Regions from separate parts of the Homo sapiens genome. Here region 1 is linked to region 2. The links are contacts of gene promoters, found by promoter capture Hi-C in blood cells and fetal thymus (Javierre and others, 2016). All regions are on one chromosome and are shown on one strand. Each heading gives the region's core, a stretch centred on a gene start or on the middle of the fragment in contact. The rest is flanking DNA. Distances are from core to core; before and after follow the strand shown. Region 1 overlaps USP54 (ubiquitin specific peptidase 54). Region 2 holds the start of POFUT4 (protein O-fucosyltransferase 4).

Evidence for each region. The method cuts DNA at HindIII sites, captures the fragments that hold promoters and counts their contacts. A CHiCAGO score of 5 or more calls a contact.
Region 1: a contact is called between a fragment that was not itself captured here and the fragment with the promoter of POFUT4 in region 2, in 3 of 17 cell types (M0 macrophages, M1 macrophages and M2 macrophages). The highest score is 6.6, in M0 macrophages.

Annotation. Positions count from the first base shown.
Region 1 is chr10:73,521,701-73,525,245 of GRCh38, forward strand. USP54 (ubiquitin specific peptidase 54) reads right to left here. Exons shown (of 24, transcript NM_001391956.1): 17 at 1,883-2,050. Among named protein-coding and RNA genes, the nearest start is that of PPP3CB, 27 kb to the left of the region's middle. The HindIII fragment of the contact is 663 bases long and covers 1,150-1,812 here.
Region 2 is chr10:73,770,740-73,774,311 of GRCh38, forward strand. POFUT4 (protein O-fucosyltransferase 4) reads left to right here and starts at 1,537. Exons shown (of 3, transcript NM_173540.3): 1 at 1,537-2,302; 2 at 2,451-3,076. The coding sequence starts at 1,595. SEC24C (SEC24 homolog C, COPII component) reads left to right here. Exons shown (of 23, transcript NM_198597.3): 22 at 1-59; 23 at 216-1,422. The coding sequence ends at 356. RefSeq lists enhancers at 1,259-1,438, 2,029-2,138, 2,424-2,954, 2,799-2,848 and a silencer at 1,769-1,818. The HindIII fragment of the contact is 15,546 bases long and covers 1-3,572 here.

The sequences.
Region 1 (3,545 bases), core at 231-2,730, 250 kb before region 2:
GTTGCTAAGTATTTACTTTCATCATGCTATTCCTCACCAAAACTACCCCCAAAGAAGTCACCTTCCCATACAGCAAGCAGGGAATATTCCATCCTCCTCTCAAAGTGAATGTGTGCCAAAGCAGGTGCAGAAGAGTCTAAAAACAATACCGGATGAAAAGGCTAGGAAGTACAGGCAGAAAAATTTTTGTAAAAGAACTCTCATGTTTATGTATCCCTTGCCCTCTACTTACTCATAATCATACATTGGCAGCAAGCTGTAATGTAATTTCACCTACAAATGGGATTGCCAGTGAGCCTTCACAAGGTTGCAGGGAAAAAAAAATGTCTGAGTCACTTCTCCCATAATGTCCCTCATCCTCCACTTACCTCCAGCAGGACATGGTAAGAAAGGCTCTTCCACATCCCTAACATTCACTTCCTAATTCATCATGACTTTTTGAGAGCAATGGGAAGACAATGGAAACAGCAGGTTGGTTCTGAAGAACTTGGCACTCAGGATCCACTCTATCTCTAGAGGTGTGGTTTCCCTTACTCCCCAGACCTGAAGTTCTCTCATAATATTTGTAATCAACTAAATGTATACAACCTTTATAATCAGAGGTAGGGCGTAGAGCCATTTTTTTTAAGTTCTCTACTCTATGGAGATCTAGACAAGCTATAGTTGATCAATCACTGTACTAAATTTTAATTCTTATCCTTCAGAATCTTAGCATTCCATTCCTTGCTCATGCAGGAAATGCTGAACCACAGTGTATAGAGAACTGACAATGAAATATTGCCAGTGGGATCTCCTCCTAACTTTAATCTATTGCCCAACTGGCAGAGAGAGAAAAAAAGGAGAGAAATGACAAGACCCCTTTTTTCAGAAGCAAAATAAACCTGGGACACCAATGTGATACAGCTTGAGGTCAAAAAGGGAAAAAAGACTATCCAAATATAGAGACAGCTAAGTATTAGGAATTTAAAACTAATTTGGAAACTAATACAATGTCTTGGGAAATATAAGGCAACAATTACCTTGAATCAAAAGAGAGTAGTATTAAAGGAAAAAAGCTGCCCCCAAACAGGATTACTTGGCCCAAGAAGATTCTCTAAGTGTATATAAAAAGAGAAAAGTGGTCAACAGAAAACAGCCAGCAAAGTTAAAAGCTTGCACTTACAAACTGGGACCTTCATACTGCTTTAGCACAATTTGTTGTAAGTGGGGTTTCCGAATTATAAAAACAATAAAGTCATTTTATAGGAAAAAAACTAAGATATATGGCCTATTTAAGGTAGATACTTCAGCTTGGCTGAACTATTTTGAAGGCTAGTCTCTTTTGGTACAAAGTGACATCCTAAAAAAATTCTAGGAAGAAAAAAAGTCTAACATGGGGCAGTTGTGGAAGTAAAGTCCATGCAAATTGTTTGAGGTTACAGAATCAATTGTCATGGTATCAAAAGTAAACTGGCTTTGTTCTTGCTCCTGTTTGGCAGATCCACTTCCCTGATGCTCCAGGTGGAATATTTCATGGGTATGTTTCTTCCCAGCAAGTAGAATTCCCCTCACTGTCAGTGTGGCTCACTGCCATTTTCAGCTATTTCTGACTCAAGGCTAGTTTTATTTACACCTTCAACAGATGTTCATGGGAAACATTATTCATGAACGATATACTATCTCTAATCTATAGGCTTTTAATAGATGTGCCCCAAATCAGTGCCTATCTCCAGTCAATAGTCTTGTCACATCCTACTCTAACTTGTTCTCACTGGAATGGGTGAATTAAGACTTAAAAAATTATTTTGCTAAAGAGAAGACAGGGAACTTACAAGCTTAGATGTTTTTTTCTACCCTTTCTGTCTGTCCCCATCACCCACAACCTAATGCTCACAACAATTACCCTGATTCTGCAGTTCATCCAAGTCCATGAAGCGGCTAGGATGAGGGTTAAACCCTTTCGCTGCCTCTAACTCCTTCTCCCGTTTTCTTCGAAGTTCCTGTTCCTGCGCCCTCCTGGCCACCTCTTCCTGCAATTCATCCAGTTCACTTTTAGAAGATATCTCCTCACCTGTAATATAAGCAAGGGAGAAGTCACCACATTTCCATTACCAAGACTAAGTACTTGATGAATTTATGACCACTGCAATACTTTCCTTTTGGAATTCTTGCTTTCAATTTGGAGTTTATTTATTTATTATTTATTATTATTATTATTATTATTATTATTATTATTATTATTATTTTGAGACGGAGTCTCACTGTGTTCCCAGGCTGGAGTGCAATGGCGCAATCTTGGCTCACTGCAACCTCCGCCTCCCGGGTTCAAGCGATTCTTCTGCCTCAGCTTCCTGAGTAGCTGGGACTACAGGCACATGCCACCAAGCCCAGCTAATTTTTGTGTTTTTAGTAGAGACGGGGTTTCACCATGTTGGTCAGGCTGGTCTCGAACTCCTGACCTCGTGATCCACCCACCTTGGCCTCCCAAAGTGCTGGGATTACATACAGGTGTGAGCCACTGCGCCTGGCCCAATTTGGAGCTTATATTTTGGATAATGCTTTCCATAATTAGATTCCGGATGGCACTTGGGCCAGGAATAATAATAATAATAACAACAGGCCGGGCATGGTGACTCACGCCTGTAATCCCAGCACTCTGGGAGGCCAAGGCGGGAGGATCACCTGAGGTCAGGAGTTTGAGACCAGCCTGGCCAACATGGTGAAACCCCGTCTCTACTAAAAATACAAAAATTAGCCAGGTTTGGTGGCAGGCGCCTGTTATCCCAGCTACTCGGGAGGCTGAGGCAGGAGAATCACTTTAACCCGGGAGGTGGAGGTTGCAGTGAGCCAAGATCGCGCCATTGCACTCCAGCCTGGGAGACAAGAGCAAGACTTCGTCTCAAAATAATAATAATAATAACAACAACAACAACAACATTTATGGAGTGCTTCACAACAATAGTATTACGCTGAACATTTGTTCAGCACTTACTATGTGCCAGAAACAGTTTTAAGCATGTTTACATGTATTATTTCATTTAATCATAACAACAACTTATGAGGTAGATACTATTACCCCCATTTTAGGAATGAGGAAACTGAGTCACAGGAGGATAAATAATTTGCCCAAGGTAAACCAAATGGGAAATAATGGAGCTAAATTAAAGTCAAGTAGGTTAAATTCATAATCATGCTCTAATCATTAGAGAACACTTTCTACCAGGTGCTGTCACTGACTGACTGGGGAGCTTCAAGAATGTCATTTTCTCACCCTTAATTTCCACCACCTCTTTGAATTTGTAAAATGTCCACAGCAGTATAAGTCCAATTTTATAAACCTTTCTAGATGGATCTAAATAGATCCAGAAGGATGTCCATAATAAATTAAGTGAAAAATTGAGAGAATAACATGCATAGTATGACTTCATCTTTTTAAAAATGGTGCTTACCTATATATATATGTACATAAACTTATCTATGTACTTGTGTAAGCATAGAAAAAGACAGAAAGATATATACCGCAATGGTAACACTGGCTCCTTCAATTTCAGGAGGCAAAGGGCAGA
Region 2 (3,572 bases), core at 287-2,786:
CCAAGAAGGTTCGAGGCCTCATTGATAGCTTACGGGCACAGAGATCCCGGTACATGAAGGTAACACTGATCTGAACCCTGGATTTCTTACCTTGTCAAGTCCTCACCTAGAAGTGGGGGTTGGGTGGGGAATGAGTAAGTGACTGCCTAATGAGATTTCTGGGCATGTTTAATTTCCTTTGGCCTTGCCTTATGAACCCTGAATTCTGGCCGTAGCTTACCGTGGTGAAACAGGAAGACAAGATGGAGATGCTGTTCAAGCACTTCCTGGTGGAAGACAAGAGTCTGAGTGGGGGAGCATCTTATGTGGACTTTCTCTGTCATATGCACAAGGAGATTCGGCAGCTACTGAGCTAAAGCAAGTGGGTAAATGGCATAGGGCCCAGGCTAGCTTCCAGAAAGCACCCCAGGATGTCAGAGAAATTGGGACAGTAACATATCTTATGTAAGCTGACCTCAGTCTCTCTGGGGGGAGGGGGAGATATAAGGAGACACCTTCTTTCTGGGCTCAAGTATCCTGCCACTCTGTCATGTCCTGCTGATGGAAGGTGCCCCTGTTCCCTCATTCTACCCTCTTTTTCCTGCTAATCCTGTCATAATGAATGTAGCTTCTCAGTTCACTGTATATGATTCGGTATTGGGGGTTTGGAGGCACCCAGACCCTGGCAATATTATGTGTCCCTTTGGACCAGTCTCCCAAGAGGAGAGGGGCAGGCAGGAAAGAGTGGGGATCCTAAGGTTACTACAGGGGGCTCAGTGTCATCCACAACTTCCTATATTAGGGATAAAACATATAGGTGCACAAGAGCTGGGGTATAGCCCATAGGTGGTGGAGAGAAAAGTGGTCAGTCCTTCTTGGGCCTGGAGGTTAGCAGTCAAGTTTCTCTGCTTTCACTGCTCGCTCGCTCTCTCCTGCAATGATTGATGATCACTCCGTGGATAGAGAGGCACACTGTCAGAGGTGACCGGAGAACTGAGTTGCAAAATATATTAAGATCTGGTAGAGGTACCAGCTTCCTTTCCAGCTGGAGAGGCCCCAACACTGGATGGTTCTGTAGGGAGCCTAGGGAGCCTGGTCATCAACTTGCAATACCTCACAGAGCCAGTTCACATCCCACTCTGAGCTCCCACGAGAAACACTGCTTCTCCAGGCCCGGGGTTGTTGGGGAGAGAGGCAGAGGCAGCTGGAGCGCCGTTCTCTCCTGCTGGGACACCGCTTGGGCTTTGGTATTGACTGAGTGGCTGACAGTTATCTTCCAACCCCAACTGGCTTGGGGGCAGGACAAGGGCTAGGCTTGATGGTGGCCAGGCTTGCCTGCTCCCCACCTGGGATGCCCCTGCTCTGGACCTCTCATTTCTCTTCATTGGTTTATTTTTCAATGCATCTTTAATTTGTAAAGAAATAAAATAAATTAAGATGTAACCATTAGCCTCATCTTTACTCCCGAAAGCTCACTTTGCTTTTAGTCCTGGCCGTCGGCTGAGCGAGCTGCGCATGCGCCACGTGCCCCCGTGGCGTAGGGCCTCGTCCGGTCACGACTATCCGCTGGGCGGGGTCGGTGCTGGCCGAGGGGGCGCCGGCTGCCGGAGTGGACATGGCGGCCGGCCCCATTAGGGTGGTGTTGGTCCTTCTAGGGGTGCTCAGTGTCTGTGCAGCCAGCGGCCATGGGTCCGTAGCGGAGAGGGAGGCCGGCGGGGAGGCGGAGTGGGCGGAACCGTGGGATGGCGCGGTTTTCCGGCCGCCCTCGGCGCTGGGCGCAGTGGGGGTGACGCGCAGCTCTGGGACGCCGCGGCCAGGGAGGGAGGAGGCGGGGGACTTGCCGGTACTGCTGTGGTGGAGCCCAGGGCTATTCCCCCACTTCCCGGGAGACTCGGAGCGCATCGAGTGTGCGCGCGGCGCGTGCGTGGCGTCCCGGAACCGCCGAGCGCTGAGGGACTCGCGGACGCGCGCGCTGCTCTTCTACGGCACAGACTTCCGCGCGTCGGCCGCCCCGCTGCCGCGCCTGGCGCACCAGAGCTGGGCGCTCCTCCACGAGGAGTCGCCCCTCAACAACTTCTTGCTGAGCCACGGCCCGGGCATCCGCCTCTTCAATCTTACCTCCACCTTCAGTCGCCACTCGGATTACCCGCTGTCGCTGCAGTGGCTGCCCGGGACCGCCTATCTGCGCCGCCCGGTGCCTCCGCCCATGGAACGCGCGGAGTGGCGCCGCCGCGGCTACGCGCCGCTGCTCTATCTGCAGTCACACTGCGACGTGCCAGCGGACCGGGACCGCTACGTGCGCGAGCTCATGCGCCACATCCCGGTGAGTGAGGGCGGGCCGGAGGGAAGGAAAAGGAGAGGGCGGGTTGAGGCCAGGACTCCAGGTGTCCAGGACTCCAGGTGTCCAGGACTCCAGGTGTCCAGGCCTCCAGGGCCGCACCCTCATGACAGCCTTACTGTACCCGGTCTAGGTAGACTCCTACGGGAAATGCCTGCAGAATCGGGAGCTGCCTACCGCGCGGCTACAGGACACAGCCACGGCCACCACCGAGGATCCAGAGCTCTTGGCTTTCTTGTCCCGCTATAAGTTCCACTTGGCCCTGGAAAATGCCATCTGTAACGACTACATGACAGAAAAACTGTGGCGTCCCATGCACCTGGGCGCTGTGCCCGTGTACCGCGGTTCTCCCTCTGTGAGGGACTGGATGCCGAACAATCACTCCGTCATCCTGATTGATGATTTTGAGTCTCCTCAGAAGCTGGCAGAGTTTATTGACTTTCTGGACAAGAATGATGAGGAGTATATGAAATACCTGGCATACAAGCAACCTGGGGGCATCACCAACCAATTTCTTCTGGATAGTCTGAAGCATCGGGAGTGGGGAGTGAATGATCCTTTGCTGCCTAACTACCTCAACGGCTTCGAGTGTTTCGTCTGTGACTACGAACTGGCTCGGCTGGATGCCGAGAAAGCCCACGCGGCCTCTCCCGGGGACAGCCCCGTCTTTGAGCCCCACATTGCCCAGCCCTCACACATGGACTGCCCAGTGCCCACACCTGGCTTTGGCAATGTGGAAGAGATTCCTGAGAATGACAGGTAAGAGTGCTGGGGTCCCCTGCAGCTATCAAATCATTTACTTACTTGCTTACTGTGGGCAATTAAGTAGCACTAGGTGCTGAGCAGGTGCAGGAGGAAATTATCACATGGGCTCATTCTGTATTTAAGGTGTCAACAGTCTAGTTGGGGGGATAAGACAAGCTGAAAAAGCTGAATAGATGTAAAATATAATTCAAGGCAACGTATGAAAATCAGCTTATGTGAACAATGTTTCCAGTAGTGGTTCAAAAAGATTGAACCAGAGTACAGGGCCTGTGCAGACAGGGGAGAGAGAAAATGGGGCAAATAAATAGGGACAAGGCTATAAATATCATTAATACCAGGTTCAGGAGTTTGCACTGCACTAAAAATCAACTCAGCTATTTGAGCACCTTTTATAGAGTGGAAATGGGGTTGGGCAGTAGAGAAGAGCACTTTTAGAGAGGCTTTTCTGCAGTAGTCAGGGGTTACACCTGTTAACCAGCCATAATTTTTT